Regions from separate parts of the Homo sapiens genome. Here all the other regions are linked to region 1. Evidence: promoter capture Hi-C in 16 types of primary human blood cells and fetal thymus (Javierre and others, 2016). All regions are on one chromosome and are shown on one strand. Each heading gives the region's core, a stretch centred on a gene start or on the middle of the fragment in contact. The rest is flanking DNA. Distances are from core to core; before and after follow the strand shown.

Region 1 (2,853 bases), core at 1-2,500:
AGTTAAGATCAACAGTGAGGTGAATTACAGCAAAATTATCAATAAAAAGTTACCTGCTGACACAGCGCCGATAATTGTCAAAATATATTCTTCCTCTCTCATAGGCTATAGGTGACCTGGAATGAGTTGTCCAGACATTCTTAAATTTAGTACTTTCCTAAAAGACATAAAGAATTTCCGTTCAGGAAAGAACTCTTAGGCTTTAAGTTAGATTTTAAATTTTCAAAGCAACATAATGTCACCTATATTATTTTAAAACTTTTTGCATCCTTCCTCCACTCTGCCCTCATGTTTTGGCTTAATGAGGTGACCAACTTTTAGAATAATTGTTTCCAGGTAAGACATAAGAAGCGTAAAACTAAAAGCAGCTGGTGGCCCTATTACCACCTATCCCAGATTCCGGGCTTGTATCCTCCTCCCCATCACATGTGACCCTATAAAGGGAGGCCCCAGCGCGTTAAAACCGCATCCCCGCAGGAGGCTCGGCCGCCGCGCGCCCGCGGCCCTCCGTCCCGCCCCGGCCGGCTGGCGGTCACCTGGCACACCAGCGCCCGCAGGATGCCCAGGTTGGTCCTCTGCACCACGCCTGCGTCGCGCGAGAAGCAGCCCAGCGCCCGGCGACTCAGCCGGCTGCACACGTTGGGCTTCCGGGTCGGGCCCATGGAGGCGCGGGCCGGGCCCTGGGTAGGCTGGGCCGCCGAGTGGCGCGCCCCACACTCCCGTGCTGGGCAGCCGCCGCTGCCTTCGAATTTCGAGGCCCAGACTTTCCCGGCGGGGCCCAGGGAAAGCTGACACGGGGAGGCGGGCAGGGAGCACCCGACGGCGGGGCGAGGGAAAGCAGAGCCGCTTGCACCGCCAGAGCGCGGAGAGAAGGGAAGAAGCACTCCCTTTTCGATCTGCCCCAGGCTCTCTGGCCGCTGACAGTGCGACGCTCCGGTACCGCGCGGCCGGCCGGAGCCGCTCTCTCACCGGGAAATGTAGTTCCTAGTGCCTCGTGAGGCAGCCCGGCTTCTCCCAGGAACTACAATTCCCGTCAGGCGGCGGGGAGCGAGGGCTTGCCCGGCCCTGCCTCTGCCTGCCGCGGCCCCGCCTCCTCCGGCCCGCGGAGGCTGCGCTGTCTTGCGGGCGCGCTTCTCTGTGCTGCGAGTGGCTAGCTGGGCAGAGCCCTGGGGGCGCGGTGCTGCCGCCTCCAGGTCTCCGCCCCGTGTGTGCGCCCTGCACTTAGGGATCCCTCCCTCACTGCCCCGGTACTCACAAGCTTCTCGGCCCCGACCTTCGCCCTGGGAGGTTCTGGCCAGGTGCCGGGAGGGGCGCTGTGTCGAGGGCGATCCCCCCAAAGCAGCGTCCCGTGCTAAAGGTACGCCCCGCGGCTTTCCCTTCAGCCGCATGTTGGCTGAGGGGGACGGTAAACTGTGCTTTTGTATTAGGAAGATGCTGGCTTCCCATTCACTCTTAGTTTCACCCTCCAAACTGGGATTGAGTTACTCTTTCCCGGAGGCTTGTCCTTGGGTGGCCTGCGGGGACACTGACTGGTTTTGCGATAATTGCTTCATTTCATTTCCTCTCGCCTCCATTCTTTTTTCTTTATAGGGAATAAAATATGAAATGCTTACATTCTTATTGGACGGCCTAAGATATTCCTCGTCGATGTCTCTAAGTAAAAGATATACTTTGTTAACTAGCCCTGCCTGTATGTTCAAAGTTCCCAGCACACTAAACTTTCAGCAAGCTTGCACCACATGTGTCCCACCGCCATGCTCTAAGTCCCTTAAGGGTGGGGCCGCTGTATCTCCCACGTGGACTTGGGCATGCTACCTCTTGTTCATAGGTGCTCAAAGAAAGCCAGCGATCGCACCTGACTGGCAGAGCAAAAAGTACAGTACAGCAGGTCCTTGAATCGCATTTTTTCGTTCAGTGTCATTTTGTATAACTTGATGAGAAAAAATAATAATTTCCTACCGGGGCTACTGTTTGTGTGGATCTTGCCCCTTCTCCCCACGTCTGCATGGGTTTTCACCAGGTACCCCAGGGTACTGCCTCCCACATCTCAGTGCAGGCTGGATGAATTGGCCTTGTCTGTGTTTCCTGTCTGAGTGTGAGTGTGAGTGCTCCCTGCGATGGAATGTCGTCGTGTCCAAGGGTTGGTTCCCACCTTGCACCCTGAGCTGAGGGGATAGGCTTCAGCCACCCTCGACCCTGAACTGGAATAATTAGGTAAATAACTATCTTACTTGTTTTTATTAATCTTCCTTAAATGTATGTATAGCTCCCATTTATTTCAATGTTTAATATTAGAAGTGTTTTGGTTTGTATTTAGGAGTTTGGTGATGTTTTTGTGACCAGAAATATGTTATAGGAACTTAACTTTTGTTTATATCAATTGGCCTATGGTAAAAATGGTTTTGTTATATGTCATTTTGCTTACAGTCAGTTTCCAAAAATCTGTTGATGACATTAAGTGAGTACTTACAGTACTGGGTGAGTGTGTTGGGTCACAGTTTAAGTGTTTAGTAAACATTGGCCATATCTCTTTTTAACCCTGCTGAATTTCCTTCAGGGCTCGAGCTTTTGCTGATTTTTCATGACTTATTTACAGCATACGGTAGAGTGCTTTGTATATTTTTAGAGAGTGCTACAATAGTTAATTTGGTAATTCATGAATGCAGCTGTCACTGAGAAAACTGGAACCCAGAAAAGATAACTGGGTTTTCTTTGGCTTAAATGAAATTCAAATCATTTCTGAATTGAATTCATCAACTCTCTCATTTCTCTTTCCTCTTTGCCCCCACTTGTTTGTCTTCTTTCTTGTGGCCTTTATTTCACCACCAAGTCGTCACCAAGGGAGAGTCATCC
Region 2 (2,853 bases), core at 241-2,740, 2.0 Mb after region 1:
AAATGTCGCCGGGCGCAGTGGCTCACGCCTGTAATCCCAGCACTTTGGGAGGCCGAGGCGGGCGGATCACCTGAGGTCAGGAGTTCGAGACCAGCCTCAACATGGAGAAACCCCGTCTCTACTAAAAATACAAAATTAGCCAGGCGTGTTGGTGCGTGCCTGTAATCCCAGCTACTCTGGAGGCTGAGGCAGGAGAATTGCTTGAACCTGGGAGGCGGAGGTCGCAGTGAGCCGAGATCGCGTCATTGCACTCCAGCCTGGGCAACAAGAGCGAAACTCTGTCTCAAAAAAAAAAAAAAAAAAAAAAAAAAAAGAATGACAGAAAATGTCATAGAAAGTGCGCAATATGTTACTACAGTCCGTAATTTTACGAATTCCTTTCTCTTTCATCTTCTTAAAGGGTCTAACATGTTAGCATTAGATATCTAGCTATACTTAACCTGAGAAATTTATCAATATTTCATTTTTCCATCTAAGGAGGTGAGGTCCATGATAAGGAACGATTCCATCTAAGGAGGTGAGGTCCATGATAAGGAACGATTCCACCTAAGGAGGGGAGGTCCATGATAAGGAACGATAAGAAGTAGCTAAGAAGCTCCATGCCATTAATCCAGGAATCTTAGCTTTAGCGTTTCTCAACACTTAGTAACCCAACCGGCATTTCCCGCCCTGGATTTTGGAGTAGGAGGTTTCTAACCACTTTTTCTTTACGATACTTTCCAAAAACATGGTTTCTATTTAATGTATGATAATTTCCAAAAACAGGTTGCAAAAGAAGACTCCTTCTTGTTGGTGACTGATATGAATAACTAGATGAAAGCTTACCAAGGACATAAAGTTTGCGCGGTTAGTAATTTTTGACGACTGCCTTACTCCCACCTCCCTTATTTTACAGACATGAGGATTCTAGCTTGAATGATGAAGACATCTGCTCAAGGGCCCACACTGTGGGTCGATATTACACATCTACTTTTAGAACCCTAGTTTCCTGAGTCCCTGACCTACGTTCCTTCCATGAAACTGAAATCCCAAGCTCACGTGGGTGTATACGGGACGCTAAGCCCCGGGTGGCCCCGGTCGTGCTCAGGTTCACATTCCTGATCCGTCCCGCGGGCCAGGATGGGGGAACCGGAGGTCGCATGGGACCAAAACTGTGTAATGCCGATGCGCTCTTGCCGCGGCGCCGGCCTCGAGAGGGCCACAGTGGCCCAACCAGCCTGAGGTCTCTCGAGGCGCGGACGACCGGCGCAAGCCTCCCACCCTCACCAGGGCCGCGAGCTGCGGAGGTGCAGTCTCCGCCCGCGGGTCCCTAACGCGCACGGCGGCGCCCTCTACAGGGTTGAAGATCCCTCGGGAATCTTGGAAACTCACTGCGCGGACAGGTCGAAACGGACATCCCGATCCTCCCAAAGCGCATCCAGCACCGACATGGTGAACAAGGCCCGTGGCAGGATCTCTCCACAGCCGTGCAGGCCTAGCTGCGTCTCTCTGGCTCCAAGGCAACGGGCCGCCTCTGTCACGACGTCTACGGCGGGCGCCGAGACTCAAGCTTCCGCGAGAGTGCGCGCGCGTCGCCCAGCTCTTTCGCGTCGTTAAGCCGATTTGAGATGCGAGGCAGGATTTAGGAGTCTCTGAGAAGCCCAGCTGTGTCCGCCAAGGGGAGCGTGCCTGACCTCTGGGCGACCTTCCTTGCCTCCAAACAGACATCCTTTAGCCATTTTACCCCTCTCCTTATTTCTCTTCACCGTCAAGAGATTCAGGTTATTAGCCGGGCATGGTGGCTTCTGCCTGTAATCCCTGCAGTTTGGGAGGCCGAGGCTGGAGGATCACTTGAGGCCAGGAATTCGAGACTAGCCTGGGCAACATAGCGAAACTTCATCTCTACAAACACAAACAAACAAACAAAACCAACCCAAAATTAGCCAGGGGTGGTGGTGCACGCCTGCAGGCTCAACTACTCGGGAGGCTGAGGCGGGAGGATCTCTTGAACCCAAGAGGTGGAGGCTGCGGGGAGCTATGATCGTGCCTCTGCCCTCCAGCCTAGGTGATAGAGATATAGGATCAACAGGTTCGTATGCCTGCTGTGCAGTAACAAACCCATTACACGAAGACAGCAGAGTTTGCAGCAGGGAAAGAGTTTAATGATTGCAGGGCACCTAGCAAAGAGATGGGAAGAGATCCTCGAATCTATCTTCCCAAGAGTTCTGGGCTGAGGTTTTTAAGAGGATCACAGAGGGCGAGGGGCTGGAAAATTGGGGTCCTTGATTGGTCGGAGTAAGGGAGATGAAATCATCAGGATAGGGAAGCTGCATTCTTTGCTGAATCAGTTTCTCACGGGTTCCTCAGACCAGCTGGCATCAGTGGGATCCTTCAGGCCAGCTGAGGCAGTAGTTTCATTGGTATGCAGGATCTGAAAGACTATCTCAAAGGGAAAACTGAGTATTTCATAATGTTCAAGTTGTTCTCTATAGAGCAATAGAAGGGAACTATAATCTTGTGACAGGGTCTGCATGATTCTAGGACAATAGGCACCAAACAACTCTGAGCAAGCAGGTCAGAGAGGAAGCTGACCTCATGATTAATGCCGAATTGGCTGCAAGCTTGGTTTATTTTTGTCCCCTCCCCCACACTTTCTTCCCTGATTACTTTTATAAATTTTATTGGGATGGTTTTAGAATGAGGAAAAAAGAAATTTAGAGTTAAAGCTTCAAATTCCTTACCTGGGCCTAGCTCAATGTGGCCCTGCCTATGTCTGCAACCTCCAACCACCCTCACTTCTGGCTGCTCTCTTGCCAGACAGGGCTCAGAGACTTTGGAGGGCCCCCTTCCTTTGCCTGGAACACTGTTTCCCCA
Region 3 (2,853 bases), core at 170-2,669, 1.8 Mb after region 1:
TTGGACAACTATGTTAGTACCAAACTATAAAAGCAAATACTTTTGTATTTGTGTTCACTACTGCAAAATGTTGGTTACACACAGAAAGGGCTATCGTGGAAAGAAATTAAAATCAATGCACAAAATGGTGCTTTTATAGCATTTCCAAAACGATTGTGCATACTCCTTGCCAGCACATCTAGACTTTGCTCCTTAAGACTAAACATGAGCTGGCCGTGCGCGGTGGCTCTCGCCTGTAATCCCAGCACTTTGGGAGGCCGAGGTGGGCGGATCACGAGGTCAGGAGATCGACCATCCTGGCTAACACGGTGAAAACCCGTCTCTACTAAAAACACAAAAAATTAGCCGGGCATGGTGGCACGTGCCTGTAGTCCCAGCTACTTGGGAGGCTGAGGCAGAAGAATCACTTGAACCCAGGAGGCGGAGGTTGCAGTGAGCCAAGATCGCGCCACTGCATTCCAGCCTAGGCGACAGAGCGAGACTCCGTCTCAAAAAAAAAGACTAACCAAGAACCAAATTAGCATACTTCCCCTTCAGGCATACTGAGCCCCGAAATCATCATCTTCCTCCTAAAGAGTAATTATCTCCTCCTAAAAGGCCTGCGCAGCTCACAGCTCCTCCGAAACACGGGGGAACTTCGCGAGAGCTCAAGACCCTGGACTTGAGTTTTAGAAAAATGCTTAACAAAGTGGCCTCTGCCACTTAACTGCACGACAGCCACTGTGCTGTGAGAGGAAAAGGTCGAAAGAGGAGGAAAGCTAGTCTTCAATTTTAATCCCTGTGATTCAGGCTCTTCGCCCGTCACTCTCCAACCCTAGCCTGACAGGACGTCAGGCTGTCTCCCCCTTCCCCACCAGTCCCGCCACCTACCCCGCAACAGTGCTGAGTCTTAGGATTTTGAAGCTTTAAAAATCAACCCGGCTCCCTAGAGTTCAGGCCGCAGTCGCTGCCGCCATGTTACAGCTTGTGCGGCAAAATGCGTCAGTGAGGGAGGTGTGCGCCTGAGTGGGGAGGGCGGGGGCTGGCAGAGGAAGGACCGTCCCCAGGCCCCGGGGCTCGACTGCAAGCCTTCTCCTTCTGCAACAGCGGCAAAGGCACTGCTGCGGTCCTCAGGGACTTCCTCTGGGCCCAAGCAGCCCCGATACCTCGAGGGAAAGACGGTAAACCCAACCCGGTCAGCCGCGCCGGCTCCGCCCCTCTTCCCAGGCCCTTCCCGCTTTCGTACGCAGGGACTGCTGAAATGACGCCGCCAGAACAACTTGAGCCTCATACCACTTACCTGCACCGGTAGAGTTTTCCTCTTCTCTGGGTCCGGTCCTTTGAAGCGCTTCAAATCTACCGCCGCCAGAAAAGGCGCTAAAGCCCGCTAACCGCCTCCCTCCCCCACAACTCAGTCCTGGCATGGAGAGACAGCGTCGCACCGGAAGCGCGTCAGGAGTGGGTTGTCAGCATCGGCCAGCGTTCACCTGCTTGCGTCACCACGCCCTCCTAGGACTTCTAGGATTTTGGTGCCTTTTAAATTCCTAGTTTATAGGTGGCCTAATGCTTTGTGGATGCGTTGACTGGGAACGCTTGTAACCGTTAAAATGCCATATCCTTTGTGAAGTAAAGTGCCTCATTTAATAAACATTTATTGATCTTACGCTAGGTTATCAGAAAGGAAGGCCTACCTTCATGGAGCTTCCAGTTAAGCTTCCACTTAACGCTAGGATATAAGTTCTAAAAACGCAGTAATGAGCAAAGTGTTATTTGAGGAAAGAGGAAGAAATTACAAAGAGCTTTGATGTTCTTTGTTGTTTTACAGATAAAGAAATTGAGGCTCAGGGAAGATAAACGCCTCCTCCTCAAACACACTGTTCTTGAATGCCAAAGCAAGTCTTTTGATGCCAAATCTAGTGCCTTCTAGAGAAAATATGGCATATATTATTTAATTATTTTAAGGGGCAAGGGTCCCCGGATTATGTTAGAAATAAATAACCATTGCTGTTTGGGCGGGGGGGTGGGGGGGGATGGGCAGTGATTCTGGTAGGGATGTGGGGTGTGTTTTAAAGGAACTAGCTAACTAGAGGACTTAAATTGTTCTGTCGTTTAAAGGCAACGTAAATTATGATCATTTAAATTTTTCACTCACTTGCATCAGGTAAATTAATTATCAACAACAGTTAGGCATGTGGTGGTGCTTCTAAGGGGCGTGACCAGTTTTACACAGCAGTAAAACAGAGGACATTTCTGCCTCTCCACCCCCACCTCTTTTAAGTCATTGCCCTTTATTGCAGGAGAGCAGCAGCATATTCATCTTTAGATAGTTCAGAGATTAAACGGATTTACACTTCGCTGTGTGTGGAGGGGACAATTCTGCAATACCTTAAAACAGGGGTCCCCAACCCCTGGGCCACAGACTGGCCTGGCTAATTTTTTGTATTTTTAGTAGAGACAGGGTTTCTCCATGTAGGTCAGGCTGGTCTCAAACTCCCAACCTCAGGTGATCCGTCCTCCTTGGCCTCCCAAAGTGCCGGGATTACAGGTGTGAGCCACCACGCCCGGCCAACGCTTTTCGAAAGAAGACATACTTGCAGCCAACAATCATAATGAAAAAGCTCAACACCACCAATCATCAGAAAAATGCAAATCAAAACCGCAGTGAGATACTATCTCATACCAGTCAGAATGGCTATTATTAAAAAGTCAAAAAATAACAGGTGCTGGTGAGGTTGTGGAGAAAAAGGAACATTTTACAGTGCTGGTGGGAGTTTAAATGAATTCAACTATTGTGGAAGACAGCGTGGCGATTCCTCAAAGACCTAGAGGCAGAAATACCATTTGACCCAGCAATCACATTACTGGGTATATACC
Region 4 (2,853 bases), core at 252-2,751, 1.6 Mb after region 1:
CTTCCTATAATAATGCAAAGAGGTGTCCATCCACAGGCTTAAACGCAATCCTGCAATCCTTTTACTTAACCACTGGATCCTGCCTTCTCAGGATCCCAACTCCATCCAATATCCTCTTGCATTTTTAACCCCTCTCTTTCTATTAGCTCAATTCTTGTCAGAATTTGTCTCCTCCTGTCTTAAAAATAATTGAAAAAATAATAAAGCTTCCCCCATTACTAAGCATCCAACCATTCTTTTCGTAGGCCACCTTTCTCTTTCTCTTTCTTTTCTTCTTTCTTTTTTTTTTTTTTTTTTTTGAGACAGGGTCTCACTGTCGACCAGACTGGAGTGCAGTGGCGCAATTTCAGATCACTGGAAGCTTTGCCTCCCGGGCTCAAGCGATTTTCCCACCCCAGCCACCCGAGCAGCTGGGACCACAGGCTCGCGTCATCAGACCCAGCTAATTTTTGTATTTTTAGTAGAGACAGGGTCTCCTTATGTTGCCCAGGCTGGTCTCAAACTCCCGTCTCAAGCAATCCGCCCATCTCGGCCTCCCAAAATGTTGGGATCACAGGGGTGAGCCACCGCTTCCGGGGCCACGTTTAATTGTTCACATTTACTCTTTCTTCTTCCTAAATTTCCATTCGCTCCACAATCTGCTACAACTTAATTTCTGCTCCTACTTTATGAAGCCCGACCTCTTTCCAGTATTTGACACCACTACCTATTCTTTTATTTTCATTTCCACTGTCTTTTTTTTTTTGAGACGGAGTCTCGCTCTGTCTCCCAGGCTGGAGTGCAGTAGCTTGATCTCGGCTCACTACAAGCTCCGCCTTCCGGGTTCACGCCATTCTCCTGCCTCAGCCTCCCGAGTAACTGGGACTACAGGCGCCCGCCACCAAGCCCGGCTAATTTTTTTGTAATTTTAGTAGGGACAGGGTTTCACCGTGTTAGCCAGGATGGTCTCAATCTCCTGACCTCGTGATCCACCCACCTCGGCCTCCCAAAGTGCTGGGATTACAGGCGTGAGCCGCCGCGCCCTGCCTCTCCACTATCTCTTCTTTGGGTTTCTTTGACATCACCACTCCTGTGAGAATTGCAAGTGACACAAATGACCTAAAAATTGGGAAACAAAGTTACAATAAAATAAGGCATGAGAATGGAGAAGGAGGTAAAGGTGAATGGAGATCGCTACTTTTTGAGCCGAGACTTGGGAAACAAGAAGAGTCACTCTGGGCCATACAACAAAGTGACTGTGACTTTCTCTCCCGCATCCCTTTCACTCTGTCTTTCCCCATCCTTTGAGGGCCCGCAGGTACTCATGGCAAACTAGAGGGTAATGAGCACGCGACAGGCGGCGAGGACTGGCGGTGGGTCAGCAAGTAGCGCAGGCTTTGCAGGCGGAGGGGATGGGGCAATGAGGCCCCCAGGTGGCCAGCGGAACCCCGGCTCAAGATAAACGCTGCAGCTCGGCGCCGGGCCGCTGGGCGGCGAACGCGTGCGCGCGTGCGGCCTGGCGCTTCCGGCACCGGCCGAGGTGCGGGTCGCCTCCAGAGGTGCGTGGTCGTGGCGCGAGGGATCCTGAGGCTGCTCCAGCAGTGCGCCGCCGCCGTCTCCTGGGGCGGCTTGGGTTAGCCGGGAGGTGGGTCAGAGGCTCGCCCCGTGCCCTGCGTCCGGGCGTCTCCTTAGGGCGCGTCTTCGGGTCCGGCCAGCGGTGCTGAAAAAGGGAGAAGGTTGGGGGTAGGGAGGAAACAAGATCCCAGTTCAATAGATTTCTCCGCAGATCCTGTGCCTTCAAACCCTACGAGTCCATACTTTAAAACAAAATGAAGAAAGTAAGGCTTAAGGAACTAGAGAGTCGCCTGCAACAAGTGGATGGATTTGAAAAGCCCAAGCTACTTCTGGAACAGTATCCTACCAGGCCGCACATTGCAGGTAGGGCGGCTGGTTCACCACGCCCCGGCTTTCGGCGTTAGTCCAGTCTACTCTGTGATAAAAATAGAACAGTTATTTGGATACAGAGAATGTCTAGAGAAATTCTGCCCTAAGATCACCTGTCGCGTTAGAGAGGCCTTCCTTGACACTGCAGCTCAAGGCACACCCTCCACAGACATACACACTATCATTTTACTGTCTAGTTTTCTGCATATCCCTTAACACTGCCAGACATCTTTTTAATGTGTTTTTTTCTCTTCTCACATTACAATCTCTGAGGACAAGGAATTTGTTAGACTTGTTCATACTTGAATTCCCAGTGCCCAGAAGAGTCGCTGGTACTATTTAGGAGCTCAGTAAACATTTACTAAATAAGGATCAGTTTCCCATTGCTACTAATTGCCTACGCAAGGATTCTTGTGCTATATACTCTGCCCTAGAAATGAATACCAGAGTTGATAGTGGAATGATAGTTTAACAAAATCAGAGTATGTGCTGTGTAAAGATGAGCATGCATATTTTAACAGATTTTCTGAGCATTAGCATTGTTGCTTCATGCCAGATATTGATACTGGGAGTACAAGAGAGAATACAGGACAACATATATTTATGTTACCGAAGTCATTGGGAAACCTTAGGGGAAAAAAATTTTATTATTATTATTTTTTGAGATAAGGGTCTCACTCTGTCACCCAGGCTGGAGTGCAGTGGCATGATCACGGCAACTGCAGCCTTGACCTCCAGGACTCAAGTGATCCTCCTACCTAAGCCTCCCGAGTAGCTGGGACTACAGGCATGCACCGTCATGCCTGGCTAATATTTTTTATTTTTTGTAGAGACAGCGTCTTGCTATGTTGCCCAAGATGGTCTCAGACTCCTGGGCTGAAGCGATCTTCCCACTGGGGCCTCAAGAAGTGCTGAGATTACAGGCATGAG
Region 5 (2,853 bases), core at 83-2,582, 1.0 Mb before region 1:
ACTCAATCCAGAAAAATTACTTGTCATCTCAAGGAAACAGAGATGTGGTTTTTGGAATCTTTCAAACATTTGAAACATAAAGTACTTAGCTCTATATAGTTGCCTATTTTGTCCAACAATACCCTTTGCCCTCTCTTGATACCTAGGGTCCTGAATGCAGAAGGTAAGTGAAACTGTAAGACTAAGGGAGCCCTCCAAAATACATCTCTTAAGGCAACAATGTAAAATCTAGTATTCCAAACTGCAGCTACCATCCAAACTAACAAAAAAAATGGGTACTTCTCTATATACTCCCCAATTTTTTTATTTAACAGCATTAAATGTTCTCTTCTTTACTGGAGATGGAAGAAAAAGACTCAGATTTACTTTAGGATCTTGTAGCTGACAATGTATCAATGCCAAACAGGAGAGTTACTGTTAGTCAGAGAGACGGGGACCACAAACACCACCAGGTGCTCATTTCAGTATCAATTTAAACCCACTGTGTGACCTATATCCAAATTTTGCACTCCTCCATAAGTAGCAATACAGACACAGGTTTTAATCTTGAATCATTACAAAAACATTAAACAACTTTAGACAGAAGGAAAAATGCCAAAATGTTAAAAAATAAGTCTAGATACTGAGATTGCCAGTGGGTTTTTTTATTCTTCATAGGTCTGTGTATTTTACCAGCTTCTTAAAATTAACACATATTAGTTTCTAATAAAAGAACACATGTTATTTCTTTTCTTGAGATGGTATCTTGCTCTGTCACCCAGGCTGGAGTGTAGTGGCACGATTTTGGCTCACTGCAGCCTCTGCCTCCCAGGTTCAAACAATTCTCACGCCTCAGCCTCCTAAGTAGCTAGGACTACAGGCGTACACCACCACGCCTGGCTAATTTTTGTATTTTTAGTAGAGATGGGGTTTCACCATGTTGGCCAGGCTGGTCTTGAACTCCTGACCTCAAATGATCCACCCAACTCGGCCTCCCAAAATGCTAGGATTACAGGTGTGAGCCACCGACGCCTGGCCAACAAATGTTATTTCTAAAAGATGAAGAAGCAAGAGAAGAACATAGACACGAATCTGCAAATCTACTTAGACCGAACATATCAAACGAGGTTTGGCTAGAGCTTCTCAGTACACTAATTGCTCTGCTCAACCTACAAGAAGCCAGGTACACTGGATGTCAACATGCCTACCTCATGGTATCTTCTACCTATCCAGAGCCCTTAACAAAACAAGTCTCTATCTGAGACAGGAGGGAAAACTTTATCTCTGTTAGCCAGCTCTCATTCCAAAGGGGTCTGATATTTAAAACTGTCTTTCTCCCAAATATTTTAACAGCATGTGAGAACTTTTGGCTGATGAATACAAGATACGCTCATTCATTCTCTTCATTGCTATGAAATGAGTTTTTCCACAACCTCCTGCAGAACCTCAACACATCACTAGGTGGCAACATCCCTACACCATATCGGTTTAGAAACCACGGTTAGGAGGAGCAGCAAAACACGCGGCATCCCAGTATGATTCAGAAGTAAAGTAAGTAAATATTTTCAGGGCAAATAAAAAACAGTCAAGTCTGATGCAATTAAAAGAAGTCCTCTCTACAAGAATAAATGTTTGTCCCCACTCTCCTCCCTCATGGAAACAGTACAGGCAAGCTGCCGGAGTGAACGCTGAGTGAGGGAAAGGAACGCACCATCGTTATCAAACTCGATCCGCGTGCATGGCCCCCGGGCGGTGATGTCGCAGCTGTACAGCCCTCCCGTTCTGTTGGCTCTCTGCAGTGGAAGCGCTTCTGCCCGCGGGGCCCCCACGAGCAACCTGTTGATGAAACAGAGACAATTTGGAGATTTGAATTTAATATACGTTTAACAGTTAAATCAGTCAGAACTAGGAGATAGTGGGATTATTCTTTGTCTAGGAGTCCACTAATTCTTCAACAGCTTAGGCAGTGAGTGAGAACAAATGTAGAGTCCTATGGCTGGTTCATGCAAAACGCACAAACACAACTAAACAGGGGAAGCCAAAGAGGGGATACCAAAACGAGGAAAATAGGCCTGTCTCTCATAGTATCAGCATTTCTTGCTGGGTATGATCTGGTGTTTAAAAGACACCCTCTTCAAAGAATACAACCTCTAAGCCCCTATGATGCCAGGGATATCATATGAAACTCAAGAGAAGAAACCAAATACTTGTGACAATGGAAGGAAAAAATGGCCACACTAAATGTAATAAGCAATAATATGTCAGTTTCTAACACTGTGCCTTCCTGAGGTAGTTTTCAAGGGTAATTCTGACTATATCTTAGATTTTCAGTTTATATACTAATTGAGAGAACCTAATGGTAAGTAAGATACAACTCGACTGAATTATTCACTTGCAGCCTTGGCCTCTTTCCAATTCTTTTTTTTTTTTCCCTCCAGTTTTATTAGGGTAGAATGGACAAATAAAAAGCAGATATATTTGAGGTGTACAAGTTGATGTTTGTTCTTCCAAGTCAGTTCTTACTTCCTTGCACTTTTGTCACATTACAAGAGTTCGTCCTCTCTCATCCTATCAGTCTCCCACAAAGGATTCAGGGACAACTGGTGTAGCTCCACTTATGTACTAGGCACTGTAATATTCCTTCTTCTCCCCAGCCGAGTGTTTTTATCTCCTATAAGGAGGCCCCCAGTCCAAATCCACAGTCCTTAAAATTTCACCATCTCACAGCTTGACAGGCTCTTTAGAGATCCAATGACCTTGTTGCTAGGTCTCTTTTGCTAACACCTTTACTCACCATCAGGTTTACAATCTTTGAGGCCTGGCTGACTCATGGAACAACTAGGACAAGAAACAAAGACAAAGAACACACACCTG

What was found. The method cuts DNA at HindIII sites, captures the fragments that hold promoters and counts their contacts. A CHiCAGO score of 5 or more calls a contact.
Region 2: a contact is called between the fragment with the promoter of BBS5 here and the fragment with the promoter of METTL8 in region 1, in 4 of 17 cell types (activated CD4 T cells, naive CD8 T cells, total CD8 T cells and 1 more). The highest score is 7.4, in activated CD4 T cells.
Region 3: a contact is called between the fragment with the promoter of PPIG here and the fragment with the promoter of METTL8 in region 1, in 7 of 17 cell types (naive CD4 T cells, total CD8 T cells, non-activated CD4 T cells and 4 more). The highest score is 11.9, in naive CD4 T cells.
Region 4: the fragment with the promoter of METTL5 here is called in contact with the fragment with the promoter of METTL8 in region 1 in 2 of 17 cell types (non-activated CD4 T cells and naive B cells); the score reaches 7.6 in non-activated CD4 T cells.
Region 5: the fragment with the promoter of ITGA6-AS1 here is called in contact with the fragment with the promoter of METTL8 in region 1 in 5 of 17 cell types (fetal thymus, total CD8 T cells, total CD4 T cells and 2 more); the score reaches 11.8 in fetal thymus.

What each region holds. Positions count from the first base shown.
Region 1 is chr2:171,432,387-171,435,239 of GRCh38, reverse strand. It overlaps METTL8 (methyltransferase 8, tRNA N3-cytidine), which reads left to right and starts at 1,250. Exons shown (of 10, transcript NM_001321154.2): 1 at 1,250-1,357. DCAF17 (DDB1 and CUL4 associated factor 17) reads right to left here and starts at 1,014. Exons shown (of 14, transcript NM_025000.4): 1 at 537-1,014; 2 at 54-157. The coding sequence starts at 662. RefSeq lists enhancers at 188-747, 1,567-1,636, 1,309-1,869, 1,847-2,016 and a silencer at 347-1,256. The HindIII fragment of the contact is 4,328 bases long and covers 1-1,260 here.
Region 2 is chr2:169,478,131-169,480,983 of GRCh38, reverse strand. It overlaps BBS5 (Bardet-Biedl syndrome 5), which reads right to left and starts at 1,490. Exons shown (of 12, transcript NM_152384.3): 1 at 1,372-1,490. The coding sequence starts at 1,430. RefSeq lists enhancers at 1,217-1,556, 1,567-1,676. The HindIII fragment of the contact is 729 bases long and covers 823-1,551 here.
Region 3 is chr2:169,582,917-169,585,769 of GRCh38, reverse strand. PPIG (peptidylprolyl isomerase G) reads right to left here and starts at 1,419. Exons shown (of 14, transcript NM_004792.3): 1 at 1,280-1,419. RefSeq lists an enhancer at 1,454-1,503. The HindIII fragment of the contact is 789 bases long and covers 906-1,694 here.
Region 4 is chr2:169,823,553-169,826,405 of GRCh38, reverse strand. METTL5 (methyltransferase 5, N6-adenosine) reads left to right here and starts at 1,501. Exons shown (of 7, transcript NM_014168.4): 1 at 1,501-1,917. The coding sequence starts at 1,809. RefSeq lists a silencer at 752-955. The HindIII fragment of the contact is 10,424 bases long and covers 364-2,853 here.
Region 5 is chr2:172,464,501-172,467,353 of GRCh38, reverse strand. ITGA6-AS1 (ITGA6 and PDK1 antisense RNA 1) reads left to right here and starts at 1,332. Exons shown (of 2, transcript NR_157573.1): 1 at 1,332-1,530; 2 at 2,780-2,853. It overlaps ITGA6 (integrin subunit alpha 6), which reads right to left. Exons shown (of 26, transcript NM_000210.4): 2 at 1,691-1,815. It overlaps PDK1-AS1 (PDK1 and ITGA6 antisense RNA 1), which reads left to right. Exons shown (of 4, transcript NR_199657.1): 4 at 2,780-2,853. RefSeq lists an enhancer at 922-1,091. The HindIII fragment of the contact is 13,641 bases long and covers 1-2,853 here.